Linked DNA regions of Homo sapiens: region 2 is linked to region 1. Evidence: promoter capture Hi-C in human tissues and cell types (Jung and others, 2019). All regions are on one chromosome and are shown on one strand. The core of a region is centred on a gene start or on the middle of the fragment in contact, and the rest is flanking DNA. Distances in the headings are between cores, read along the strand shown. Region 1 holds the start of IGDCC4 (immunoglobulin superfamily DCC subclass member 4). Region 2 holds the start of IGDCC3 (immunoglobulin superfamily DCC subclass member 3).

What was found. Contacts are between HindIII fragments. The study calls those that stand out against the background at their distance.
Region 2: a contact is called between the fragment with the promoter of IGDCC3 here and the fragment with the promoter of IGDCC4 in region 1, in 1 of the 25 tissues and cell types used here (mesendoderm cells).

The regions. Positions count from the first base shown.
Region 1 is chr15:65,420,410-65,427,479 of GRCh38, forward strand. It overlaps IGDCC4 (immunoglobulin superfamily DCC subclass member 4), which reads right to left and starts at 2,538. Exons shown (of 20, transcript NM_020962.3): 1 at 2,384-2,538. The coding sequence starts at 2,453. RefSeq lists enhancers at 1,441-1,550, 1,571-1,840, 2,816-3,350. The HindIII fragment of the contact is 12,230 bases long and covers 1-7,070 here.
Region 2 is chr15:65,375,770-65,382,839 of GRCh38, forward strand. It overlaps IGDCC3 (immunoglobulin superfamily DCC subclass member 3), which reads right to left and starts at 2,233. Exons shown (of 14, transcript NM_004884.4): 1 at 1,917-2,233. The coding sequence starts at 2,019. IGDCC4 (immunoglobulin superfamily DCC subclass member 4) reads right to left here. Exons shown (of 20, transcript NM_020962.3): 20 at 5,715-7,070. The HindIII fragment of the contact is 8,726 bases long and covers 1-4,785 here.

The DNA of each region.
Region 1 (7,070 bases), core at 1,288-3,787:
TCGAAGGAGCTGGAGCTTCCTGCCTCCAGCCCCACCCAATCCATCCTCCACACTGGCTGGAATGAGATGATGCAAAGCTGATTTTAAATCCTGTCAAGGGCTCATGGGGACTCTCAGGCCAGAAACCTTGGTGGGCCCTGTAAAGCCCTTTGTGAGCTGGATCTAGCTCCCCTCTTCAGCCTCCTGTCTTGATACTCCCTGACCCCTTTCCATGCTTCCCTCACCTGCCCCCCATCCACCCCTTGTCCCTAAACTCCAGCTAGATTTAGTTTAATCCAATGATCTCAACTAAATCACCTCTGAACTTTGCACATGCTGTTCTCTGGAAAACTGTCCCCATCATCATTCTCCTTCTACAGGGCTAACTCCATGTCGAGCTCTACTACTCATCACTTTCTTCAGGAAGCTTTTGCTGACCTTCCCAGATCGGTGTAGGAGCCCCTCCTTCCTGCGTCTTCCCCAGCACTTCAGGGGACTTGTCAGTTTCCCCCTCCACCAGACTGAAAGCTTTGCACCAGGGATCAGGTCTGCCTCCTTATTTACTATATTCTAGGCACTAGGCACAAGCTAGCCTATAAAAGGTGCTCCATAAATATTTGTTGAACGAATGAATGACCTCAGTACAGATCAGGGTGGCTAGTCATGACTCGACTGGAGTGTCCCCCGGCCTGCTGAGATTTGGAGGACCAGGGCAAGCTGTTGTAGCCACTCACACTGCAACCAAGAGACGCCGCAACTCGGTCCCTCGCCTGCTTTGTGCGTTCGGGAGCAGGGAGAGGCCAGGGAAGCTGGGTCCCTCGCGGCAGGTCCTAAAGGTATTGAATAATGCGCCGGTGCGGTTCCCAGCCCTGATGCCGTTTAGCTGGGTGACCCTGAGCTCGTTCCAGGAGCCCTAGGAATAGCGGAAGGTGGGGCAGGGGAACTATTCCTTAATCCCCTGAGCTCTGGGAAGACAGACCTCTCTCTGACACTTCCCCGCCCCTTTCACCTGACAAGCCAGGGCCTCCAGCTCCTCTGGCCCAGCAGCCGAGACCCAGCCTCGCGGCGGCCTCCAGCTTAATCCGCTGTTGGGGCTGGAAAGGGGCGTGTCTTTGTAGGGACAGAAGGGGTCCGAGGAGTTCCCGGCACTTTCCCACCCGCTGTTTGGTTTTCCTGGAGATGGGCCTGGGGCTGGCCAGGCGGAGGCTCCTTCCCCCCGCCTCCCTCCCACGTGGCCTGGCTGAGTCTCTCTGGAAAGCCGCAGCAGCTGGAGAGAAATCCCCCTCCCCACCCCCACCTCCAAGTCCCTCCCCGACTCTCCCCGGACACATCCTCAGCTCCCCCCTCCGCGGGGAAGGCAAGAACTAGGCGAACAAAGCGGCCAGCCCATCCCCCTCCCAGCCCTGCCACCTACACTCCCCATGAGCCGCCCCCAAACGCACACCGGACAGGAAGCGACAGAGCTGTGGGTGGAAGCCGCAGCCCTAGACACACACCCTTGGGGACTTCGCTATCCCCTCCCCAGCCCTTTCTCCAGCTTGGACAACTCTGACTTACCCCGTACCCACTCCGCACTGGGCTGCGGACTGGATGAGGCCCTGCTGACCTCGTCCACGCTTCCCTGGTCGGTCCCTGGGGGGTGGGGCCGGGGTGACACGCGTCCCATCGTGAGAACAAGCGCTGGACATGTCCACGAAAGCAAATGGTTTCCTGCCCCCTCCCCCAGTCCACTGCTGGCCACAGGTTTTGGGGAGCAACACCTCCCTCTACCCCTCTCTAACCGGCCCCAGGGACCACACCCACTGGGCAAAGTTGAGTGTTGTTTTATCACCACCACCCCCAGTCAAACGGGATCCATCGCTCTGTCCCCCACTATGGGCAAGGACACTTCCCAAATGCCAAGGCCAAATATTAGCTCAGCCCCATAAACACAATTGCACACGCACCCGACCCAAATGGAGGTGCAGACACAACCCCAGTTCCCTCCTCTTTTACACACACTCTCAACCCAAGACACGCGCAGGCAAGGCAGAGCCCGCCCCGCGAAAGCCACCGACACCGCAGCTACCCGCCCCGCCGATGCCACGCCGCGACCATGGCACGCACTGCGGACACGACAGGAGCACTCCCAACACACACACACACACACACACACACACACACACACACGACTCCAGACTCTGCGAACCAAAGGCACACACCCACTGCGGACAAGCACGCCCCACAAACGCCCCCCGGCCGCAGCTCGCAGACCCCCGCGCAGGCATCGCGGGCACCTGGACGCGCAGCCCCCGCACTTGCTCGGGACTCCGGCTTGAGCCAGCCCCGCAGCCCGATGCAGACCAGGGCGCGGGCGCACCAGCACTCCGCAGTCGCTCCTGCCTCTCCGGGCGCCCGCCCTTACCGCGCGCGGCCAACAGGCAGAAGGTCAACGCGAGGAGCCCGCGGCCGCGGCCGGCGTCCCCCCGCGCCATGGGGCTGGGCTCGGGCCGCCGCCGCCGCCGCCGCCTCCCCGTGCTTCGGCCGCCGCCGCGGGGGGAGAGCGCGCCGGGCGTCAGTGGCCCGGGGAGGCGCGGCGCCGCGGGCGGGGGCGCGGCCTCGGGGGCCCGGGCCCGAGCTGGGGCCGGCGCGGGGGCCAGGGCCGCTGCCGCCTCACCCGCCCCTCCATCGCCATCTTGGGCGAGCGGCCCGGGAGGGGGCGCCCGGCGAGTGTGGCCACCCTGGCCCCGCCGGGGACCCTGCGCCCGCGCGCCACGGCCCTGCGCCTCGCGGGGGCTCCTCTCGGCCCGGGTCTGTGTCCCGGTGCCTCGCCCTCTCCGGGTCGCCGCGGGCCCCCGTGAGGCCGCCTGTTGCTGGGTCTGTCTCTTAGTCTCCCCGTCTCTGAGTCTTCTGGTCTCTCTGCCTCAGCGTCTCTATTTCTTCTCCCTGTTGCTGCCTCGGGGTCTCCACCTCCGTTCCAGGCTCAGGGGAGGCAGATTCAGGGCCACGGTCTTTGTCCAGATGGCCCCCTTGCCACCCGAGCCCAGTCCATTCCAGCCCAGGTCCTGGCCTGAATGCTGGTTCGCTTCTCCACACGTTGCGCCAGCCCACCTGCGGAGATCTTGATAGTCCTATCTGCCATCCCAAACCAAGGGCTTCTCTTGGCCTCCTTCCCTTGCTCTGGCAGTAACTAACACAGGCAGGACACTTTTACACTACCTTCAAGCACTACCATATTCAGATGTCGCCGCATGGGGAAACTGAGGCTGGAGAAGGTGAAGTGACTTGCCCAAGGACAGGAGGCTAGGGAGCAGCAGATACAGGACCTGAACCTTGGTTTTCTGACTTCGGAAGGTCATCTCCACTCCCTCACCCTGCCTCTGCTGTCCAGCATTTACTGAAGTACCCTTTTTCTCATTCTTCAACGGTACTTTCTCTAACCTACCTAGCCAGACTGTTTGCCTCAGTATCCCGCAAATATTTCTTGTTCTACAGCCAAGGGTTCAATTGTCAGGCTAGGGTGGGGAAAAGAGTACAGATTCAATGACCTAGTTAAGGTCCTTTCCAACTCCAAGATGCCATAGTTCTTCCCTTCCCTGTGTCTCTAAGTGTTCCTGTGACTTAGAGCCATCTTGTCTCTACACCTGTCTGTTGTCAGTTAACCCTCAATAATCACTGGCGCTTTGCATATCTAACAGGCCTGGCGTTTATTCATTCATTGCCACGCCCCATCTTCACTTGCCCTATCAGCAGCATTTGACTTAGTGAATCACTCCCTCTTCCTTGAAACACTTGCTTCCCTTAGTGATCTCATCTGGTCCTCAAGGCTTTAAAGAGCATCTTTATGCTAATGATGCCCAAATGTATACTTTCAGCCTAGACCATCTTTCCTGAACCCTGGACTTCTGTATCCAGCCATCCAGGCCCCAGTTCCTTTAGCTGTCTAGTAGACAAACTCATCCTGATCTTTTCTATCAATCTTTCTCCTCCCACAGTCTTCCTCATCTCAGTTCCTTTCCTGTTGCCCAGGTCAAAAATGTAGAGGCCAGGCTTGGTGGCTTACGCCTGTAATCCCAGCACTTTGGGAGGCCGAGGTGGGAGGATCGCTTGAGGCCAGGAGTTCAAGACCAACCTGGCCAGCATAGCGAGACCCCCATTTCTATTAAAAAAAAATGTAGAGTCATCTCCTACTCTTCATGTTCAGATGCTTCACCCTCCACTTTCTCACTGTGGCCTTGGTCCAAGACCCGTCGCCTCTCACCTGGATTGTCACAGCAAACTCCTCACTGATCTTTTTCTGTCCTTGTCCTCCTTGAGTGTTTTCTCAATACAGCAGCCAGAGTGCTCCTGTTAAAATGAGATCATGCCACTTCTCTGCTAGAAACCCACCAGCGGCTCCTATGTCAGAGCAAAAGCCAAAGTCCTTATTGTGACCCACAAGGCCTATCTGATCTGTAGGCTTGCTCTACCTCTCTGACCTCCCCTTCGACACCACCCCCTGTGCTCACCACCTCTCCAGCCACACCATCCTCCTTGCTGTAACTTGATCGCGGGCAGCCTCCTCCCCTCCAGCCTCAAGACCTTTGTCCGGCCAGTGCAAGTCTAGAGATCTGTTCCCTCATACTGGATACCATAAAGGCTTTCTCACAGCCTCACCCCCTACTCTTCCTATCCTCCTTCCCTGCTGTCTATTCTTGTCTTTAACTGTCACTTTCTTTTTTATTTTATTTTCTTTCTTTTTCTCTTCTTTTTTTTTTTTTTTTGAGACAGAGTCTTACTCTGTCCCCCAGGCTGGAGGGCAGTGGCTCACTGCAACCTCCGCCTCCTGGGTTCAAGTGATTCTTGGGTCTCAGCCTCTCAAGTAGCTAGGACTACATGCCCAGCTAACTTTTTGTACTTTTAATAGAGACGGGGTTTCATCATTTGGTCAGGCTGGTCTCGAACTCCTGACCTCAAGTGATCCACCTGCCTTGGATCCCAAAGTGTTGGGATTACAGGCGTGAGCCAGCACGCCTGGCCAACACTTGTCACTTTCTTTTTTTCTTTCTTTTTTTTTTTGAGATAGAGTCTTGCTCTGTCGCCCAGGCTGGAGTGCAGTGACACGATCTCAGCGCAGTGCAACCTCCGCCTCCTGGTTTCAAGAGATTCTCCTGCCTCAGCCTCCCGAGTAGCTGTGACTACAGGTGCCTGCCACCATGCCCGACTAATTTTTTGTATTTTTAGTAGAGACGGGGTTTCACCATGTTGGCCAAGCTAGTCTTGAACTCCTGACCTCAGGTGATCCACCTGCCTCGGCCTTCCAAAGTGCTGGGATTACAGGCATGAGCCACTGCGCCCGGCCAACACTTGTAACTTACTAATATGCTCTACATTTTACTTATTTTCGATCTGTTCCCCCACCCCTCACAATCACAATGTGTGCTTCATGAGGACAGGGATTTTTGTTTGCTAGGTTCACTGCTGAATGCTAAGCACCTAAATCAGTATCTCACACTGTGTAGGTGCCAGGGGACCTGGATAAAAAATACAAGTCCCTGCCCACAAGGATAGTAGTGTCCTAAGTGGCATGGGGTGGCAGGGAGGATGGAACAAAAGGAGGAGGGATTTACCGTGTGTGGGGTGGGGGGACATGGAGGTTGAGAAGGAAGGCTTCACAGAACTATTGATTGGACAAGTGTGATACGGTCTGTGATGGGGTACAGGGAGGAGGAGCACTCGGGCCAGACCTGTGGATGTTTGACATGGGTCTGGACAATTTAAAAGGCTAGAACTGACAGGGTGGTCAAGAAACTCCCTCTGCAGAGGCCCTGGGCTGTGAGAGCACAGGGAAGTGTGCTCTTCCTGCCTGGAAATGGCATATCCAATCATTGATTCAAGGGGTACCTGTTATGGGTCAGGCCCTGCTCTGGGCACTGGGAGCAGACTGGCGAACAAGAGGAATCTTGCCTGAATGGTGCTTAGGCTACTGAGGGAGATGGACAAGTGTGATACAGTCTGTGATGGGGTACAGGGAAGAGGGGCACTCGGGCCAGACCTGGGGGAAGCAGAGAAGTCTTACAGGAAAGACAATGTAAGCAGAGTGCAGGAGGTGTGGACTGGGCAGGGGAGCAGGGGCAGGACATGAAGCCAAACAGGGAGGCCAGGGCCAGATGGACTGGCCTCATATGTTATCTAGAAAGCAATTGATTTGTCAATTGAATGAATGAACAAGGTGTTGCCATATAGAGAGACTAATTCTACCAGCCACATACAAAAATCTAATTAATTTATCTATATTCATATCTCACTACATGGGCTCTGGGTAGGGAGTAAATGTGAGAGGAGGAGGGATAGAGTTACAGGTTCAGGCCAGCCAAGCCCAGCAGGAGTAAGAACCATAGTTCTTGTCCTGCCTTGGTTACAGACTTGCTGCATGACCTTGGGCAACTTCCATCCTCTCTCTGGGCCTCAGTTTCATCACTGAGACAAAAGGGTTGGGGTATGATGCACATTTCTAACCAGTTCCAAAGAGTTCACAACATTAAAAGTGGATATAGCACCTGTTTTAATGTGTTTTTAAAAATCAATCAGGCTGGGCATGGTGGCTGGCACATGCCTGTAATCCCAGCACTTTGGAAGGCTGAGGCGAGCGGATCACCTGAGGTCAGGAGTTCGACACCAGCCTGACCAATATGATGAAACCCCGTCTCTACTAAAAATACAAAAATTAGCCAGGCGTGGTGGCACATGCCTGTAATCCCAGCTACTCGGGAGGCTGAGACAGGAGAATCGCTTGAACCCGGGAGGCAGAGGTTGCAGTGAGCCAAGATGGCACTATTGCACTCCAGCCTGGGTAACAAGAGCTAAACTCTGTCTCAAAAAAAAAAAATCAATAATAAAATATTCTATTATTTTCCTCTTTCAGCTGGTAACATGGAAAGCTTCCAAGGGTGTATGGGGTGTTCCAGGGTGGTGGTTAGTGGAGGGTCGAGGAACATGCTCAGATAAACATGGTTCACTGTCATGGTTTTTATCATTAAACAGCTTTAACTTATTTTCATACTTGGTCATTTATACACTGTTTAATTTATAGCCATGTGGGACCATAAAAAATATATGACAGGCCGGGTATG
Region 2 (7,070 bases), core at 983-3,482, 45 kb before region 1:
GATGGTCACCCTGGATAAGCACTGAAGCCTCACAGACCTTCAGGGTGTGACCTTAGGTAAAGTATTCAACATGTCCTGGATTCCCATTTCTCATCTGTTTAGATCAAAGAAGAACAATGGAGCTTGGGTCATAGGGTTGTATGACATGATTAACAGACTCAAAGGCACTATGAAAAATTTAAAGTTCTAAAGAAATACAGAGGGAGATAGTAATAAATCATGCTTCTTTTTGCTGGCCAAAACCCATCAGATGCCTGGTCCAATGCCTGGCAGGGAGCAGGGTGTGTGGTCCCAGTACCCGGGGTACAGACTAGGTTGTGGCCCCATTGCCCCTCTCCTCTGGCACTCTGGGTGTTGGTCCTTTTGCCTTTGTCATAGGGAGAGATGAAGAGTAGCAAACACCAACTATGGTTTCCCAAAACCAAGGAAGAGGGTGCTCCTAGAACCTTTACTTCCAGCCAACCTCTCTGCTCCTGCAGAAGAGAAATGAGCAGGAAAAGAAGGAGGCCAAAGAATAGATGGGGTTAAGGCCAATCAGAGAATCAGAAGCCCGGCTGGAGGGACAAGCACTCCAATCCCAGGCATGATGCCAAGTCACCAACTTCTCCAGCAAACAACTTACCAGACCAGTTACAACTCCACTCGAGGAGGAATGAACCCACCTGGTCTGAAATGGCAGTCACAGACCCCTCCTCACATTTCCAGATAACTAGCGATCCTGGAGCTGGCCCCTCCCCAGCAGACTAGGGCCCTCCCTGGCTGAGGGAGATGGGGAAATGGGTGGGGAGAAAGGAGGGGCGTTGGGGTTATAGGCATTCCCCGCCCAGCGCCCCCCGCGCCCCCCTCCCCCCGTCCCCGGCCCAGGAAGATGTAATGTTTTAAGACTTTTTAGGATCGCACTTATTCAAACCCCTGCGCATCCTCCCCATGTCGTGAGTTCACCCGTCTTAGCCCCGAATCCAACCCTGGTATAGCTGTCGGGAATAAAGTTTTTCCTTGATGCGGACGCGAGCTTCTACTTCTTGGGAGAGGAGTGGAGAGAGAATAGCCCAGATGAGTGTCTGTGGGGAACTTGAGGTGGGAGGGTTAAGGGACTAGATTTGCACTCTCCTCCCGGGAGATGGGACCATTGCAGCCACTAAAGGGAACAGAGTGGTGGTGACCGAGCTCCAGGCAGCAGAGCCGAGCTCCAGGCAGCAGAACCGGCGGACCGCGAGAGCCAGGGCAAGGTCTCCGCGTGTGCACACTTCGGGGAAGGGCAGGGGCACGTGAGCATCCCCGCGGCTCGCTCGCTCTCGCTTTCGGTGGCTTCTCCTCTCCTTCTTGGCTCACGGGCTCTGTCCCGGGTCGCTCCCTAGCCACGCGCCGCCCTCCAGGAATCTCCCTCGTCTTCTCCTGTCTCTCCCGCGCACTCCTCAGCCCAGTACCAGCTCCAAATGCAGGTCGTGCCATCTCCGCCCAGTGCAGCCGTCAGAGTCCCGGTCTCCGCTCCCCAGGCTGCTGTCCCCTGTCTTGGCTGCCTCGGGCTATGTCCACGGCCGGGCACCCAGCACCCCAGCTCGTCCGCCTCGGTCAGCGCTTAGCCTTGCGGTCTCCCCTGGCTCGTTTCCCTCGGTCTCCACGCCAGCCCGCCCCGCTTGCTCCCGCTTCGCTGCACTCCTTGCTCCTCAGTCTGGGCTCCGGGTCCTGCCCCAGTCTTCCTCCGGGGGGTTCCGTCCTCAACACGCCCCTAGGGCCCCCAGCAGTCCGGCCTTGGTACCCTCTCCCCGTCCGGATCCGCAGGGTCCCCCCCGCGCGGGGTCCGCCCTCAGGTCCGCGCCGCTCTCCCCGGGTCCGCCCCTCGCGCCCGCTCCCTCCCTGCTCGCCCTTCCCCTGGCTCCGTCCGCAACCGCCCGGTCCGGGGCGCTTTCACTCACCCTCGCTCGGCGCGGGCAGCAGCAGCAACAGCAGCGGCAGCAGGAGCCGGGGCCAGAGCGGGGCGGGCGGGCGGCGCGGAGACGCGGCGCGCTGCACAGCCATGGGGCTCTCGGTCAGCTCGGCTCGGCGACGCGCGGCTCCCGGGCCTCTCGCGGCTCACAGCGTCCCGCGGGGCCGGCGCCGGGGCCGGGGCTGGGGCTCCGGCCGGGGCCGAGCCCAGGCGGTGGGGGACTGGGGCCGCATGCCTGCTCAGCAGCGCGGGGGGCGCAGGGGGAGCGCCGCTTGCGCCATCTTGCACCCACCCGGGCGATCTGTCAGCCTCGCCCGGGGTGCGCGCTCCACACTCGCACCGCTCGCGGCCGCCCCGCCCTCCTCCCCAGCCCGCCGCCCCCCTCCTCTCTGCTCCCGGTCCCCTCCCCCAGCCCCCTCTCCCCGGAGGCCCGGTCTGGGGAACAAAAGAGCCGGCGAGCGCTTTAAGCGGCCGGACATTCCCGGCTGCGCGGCGGACGCGCCCCCTGCGCTTTGAACTGTGGCTGGAGCGGCCGGCGCCGTCCCGGGCTGCAGCCGGGTATCCCCTCCCCGCGGGCCAGCCGGGGACCTGGGGGGCTGAGGAAGTGGACACCAGCGGACTGGGGAGTGGGTCCGGGCTGCGGAAAGACACACAGCTGCGGGATTTGCTCTGACCCACTCTTTCTGCTGCGCCCTCCTCCAAGTCCATATTTTAGAGATAATTCTCTAAAAAGCTGCGTAAAGTTGTCAAAGATTCAGTTTTCCATGGATTTCTGGTCCTTCCACTCAAAGGATAGATCCTGTAGCTGCAAGCTTGGCTTCTCTGGACCGAGGAGTCCTGGCGCTCCGCTGGGGAGGATTGCCTGGAGAGAGCAGACCCAGCAGCAGGACAATGAGAGCTCTAAAGGGGCCTGGCTTCCGACCTGGGTTCTGCCTGCTGCCTAGCCCAGTCACTCTCACTGAGCTCATCTGAAAGATGAAAATAATCTTATCTCTCCTGTTCATCCCTAGAGACCTTTAAACCGCAGAGGTCCTGACAAATGACCTGGTAACTGGAAAAGCACATAGAAAGTTAAAATTCCCAGTAACGTTTCTGTGCCACAAAGAAGGCCCTCAATCGTTCATGTCAGAGAACATATAAGGAGACAACAGAGGTCCCACGTGAGAATGTTACAGAAGATAAGCATGTCTTTTAGCAGAGACATACCCATACTAGCCCTCAGAGATCTTGAATCTCAGCCACTCTCTATTAAATGGTCTTCTGTTGAGTCCAGCATGATGGACTAGTCCATCAAAATTATTGAGCAGCTACTAAGTTCTAGGAGCTAGAGAATTAAAGCTGGCAGGCTAGGCTTAGTGGCTCACACCTGTAATCCCAGCACTTTGGGAGGCCGAGGTGGGCAGATCACTTGAACCCAGGAGTTCAAAACCAGCCTGGGCAACATGGTGAAAACCTGTCTCTACAAAAAATACAAACATTAGCCAAGCATGGCGGTGCATGCCTGGAGTCCCACTGTATTCCAGCCTGGGCAACACAGACCCTGTCTCAATAAATAAATAAATAATAAAAGTTGGCCTAATGTAGCTATTTGCTCCTTTGGCACTGGACTGGGATGGCAGAGGAAAAACTAAGTCTTTCTTTTGATACCAACTCTGGAACTTTGGGACCATGTACGAAACTAACGGTGGCTCACGCCTGTAATCCCAGCACTTTGGGAAGCTGAGGCGGGTGGATTACCTGATGTCAGGAGTTCGAGACCAGCCTGACCAATGTGATGAAACACCATCTCTACTAAAAATACAAAAAAATTAGCCGGGCGTGGTGGCAGGCGCCTGTAATCCCAGCTACTCGGGAGGCTGAGGCAGGAAAATAGCTTGAACCCGGGAGGCAAACGTTGCAGTGAGCTGAGATTGCACCATTGCACTCCAGCCTGGGCGACAGAGCAAGACTCCGTCTCGAAACAAACAAACAAACAAAAAACTAACTTTGATACGGATAAGTAAGGAAGTACAGGCCTCCAGAAATCAGAGTGCCTGTAGATGGACAGGTTTACTAATGATGAGGTTGGCATAGCTCAGGACTGTTCACTCTAGGGCAGCTACTGGAAGATGAGCCTGAGAAGCAGGACATGAGGCATGTGAACAGCGGGAAGCAATGGAAAAATTCTAGGTGGAGGACTCCAATGTGCCAAAGCCCTATTGGATTTCATTGTGAGAAAGGGTGGGAGTGGTGGTCTACTGGCCTTAGGAAAGGGAGGGGAAGGGCCCTCCCTGGGCCTAAAATCCTGGAACTCCCTCCTGCAGGGCTTGAATTCTCAACAACCCCTTCTTGGCTTGTCCTGGACTCTGAAGAGGTCAAATTGGTCTCTTGAATTGCTGTCATTTTAAATTCATTTTGACAAGTGTTTAATTCTTCTTTATCACAACCCTTGGTCTGAGAGTGATATGCAAATAATGGCTATTCTGCCGAGTGCAAAATGTGCAGTATCTCTCTGTCTGATCTGTCAATTAACTCTGGGTCTGGCCCACCACTTTGGGGGTGGTCCTGAGCAAAGCAGCCTCTAGCTCTTGATTCCCTCCAATAGAAAGCATGTTCCGGGCTCTGTAAAGATCTTAGCAGACAGCAGCTGCCAACTGTGATGCCAAGATGTGTGTGGGGTGTGAGTGTGGAGTTTTGTGTGTGAGACTGTGTGCACATTTGCATTAACGGACAGACACAAGGGTGTTTGTGAAGGCAAAGTATGCATGTGCGGGTCTCTGAGCTTGTACACACAGTGCACGTGTGTGTGATTGTGTGGCCATGAGTAATTTTGGTGACCAGAGTTATACAGGAGAATAGTTGTGGAGCCCAAATCTCTGGAGTTGTTCCCTCTTTCCTGCACCCAAAAAAGTTCAGAGAAATGTGTGCCCAGATGGAAAGAGATCCCCAGAGAGTCTAAGGAAGTGCCATCAAAGGACACATCTTTCCTAAGTTTACGTCTTTTTCCTAAGTGCCTGTTGAGGGAGGAAGATGGTTTAGTTCTTTCCCATGACCACCTGCTTTTTACCCTCAAAAACCACCATTTTGAGCCGGGCGCAGGGGCTTATGCCTGTAATTCCAGCACTTTGGGAGGCCAAGGCGGGCAGATTACCTGAGGTCAGGAGTTTGAGACCAGCCTGGCTAACATGGTGAAACCCCGTCTCTACTAAAAATACAAAAATTAGCCGGGTGTGGTGGTGCATGCCTGTAATCCCAGCTATTCGGGGGGCTGAGGCAGGAGAATCACTTGAACCCGGGAGGCAGAGGTTGCAGTGAGCCGAGATCATGCCACTGCACTCCAGCCTAGGCGACAAAGTGAGATTAGTCTGAAAAAACAAACAAACAAACAAACAAACAAACAAAACACTATTTTGGGCCAAGAGGCAGTGGCTCATGCTTGTAATCGAGCACTTTTCGAAGCTGGGGCAGGAGGATGGTTTTAGCCCAGGAGTTCGAGACCAGTCTGGGTAAGATAACGAGACCACATCTCTATAACAAAAATTTTTTTTAATATTAGCCAGGCATGGTGGCATGTGCCTGTAGTCCCAGCTACTAGGGAGGCTACAGTGACAAGACTGCTTGAACCCAGGAAGTTGAGTCTGCAGTGAGCTGTGATTGTGCCACTGCACTCCAGCCTGGGCGACAGAGAGATCCCATCTCAAAAACAACAACAACATCATTTCCCATCACAGTAAGAAATAAAATCCCTAGGGCACAAAGGCTGAGGAAATTCTAGTCATGGTCAATGGTTCCAAAAGAGAATTCCACATTTCTGGAAAATAGTTTATTAATTCATTATAAGGACAGATACATGAATCAATGCCTTAGCTTAACACTAAAGAGTATCATATTTGTAAGGAGAAAAAAAAAACGCTGGAAGGATAATTAAATAGTACAGCATAAACTAAATACAGACAAATAAATGAGCAAGTACTGATTACACTTGTCATGCATCAAGAAAAGGAAGATTTTTAATTGAGACTCAGAAAACTTAAGGCATCAATGGTAGGTGACAAAGGGATTAATACCCTGTAAAAGGCCAATAGATTCTTTTCTAATAAAAATACTGCTACAAAGACACAAACCTAACACTTCCAAATTACCCAGAGCCCAAATCATATATAGTGCTAGTGAGAAATGGCCACTTTCTTATCAACTGTGAGTTATAGGCAGATACCAGATTTATTACTTATTTGCTTTTGAGAAACAATTTTCCACCCAACCTAATGGGTTATAAATTGTCTCATTTGCAGCTATTTAATTTAAACCAGAACCTCAGTGCCTGTTAAACAAGAACATGAAAAATGACTATGTGGTATAATGCTAAGAGCCTACTGTTAAAACAGCCATTTAATTCAGGGCAGTTTTTTTTTCTTCTTTAAAAAAAAAAAATCAAACCAGCAAAATAAAATGAGGCTTTTGACCTTCAGAGCAATGATGAAACATACACAGTGGTGTTAGCCACAGCAGCGCTGAATGCTACAGAAATACTACAAGTGACAATTCTGTCTTTAACGAGATACAAAACCAACATTAATAATCTTTAGTGTTATCATAGGCTGGCTGAAGGAGGGGGAGGAGGTGGAAACGTAGGTGCAGACATCAACAGTGAGTGACACCCGAGTATAATAAACACAGATGCTTTCAGGGTTTGAGGAAGCCGCAACTGTGCTGAGAGACATTCCACCATTTAAAAAAAAAAAAAAAAAAAAGGAAAAATGGACTGGTTATTTCGAATTTGGCCCAGAAGGCAGAGTTAACTCTTGATGTGCCAATCAGACATCATTAGGGAGTAAAGACCCTAACATTCTATGCTCCTATGAGAGGGCTGAGGTGAAAAACCAAATAAATGACATTGTTTTCACTACACAGAAAATAGAAGTCAAGCTTGTCCCTGTGCGGCAGGTGAACAGAAAATGACTTGAGGATTCAATTTAAAGAAAAAACAAACTGAAATGAGCTACCCCTTTTCCTGTGCAAAGACCTCCTTGCCAGCACCCCAGAGGGTGAGATTCCTGTCATCCCCAATCCAGATCAAGTCAAGCCTCACAGGGTGGGAAGGGCCTCCCTGAACTCTCACTCCCCTTCTCTTCCTTTAGCTTCTTCTGGAAGAGAGGCCCAAATC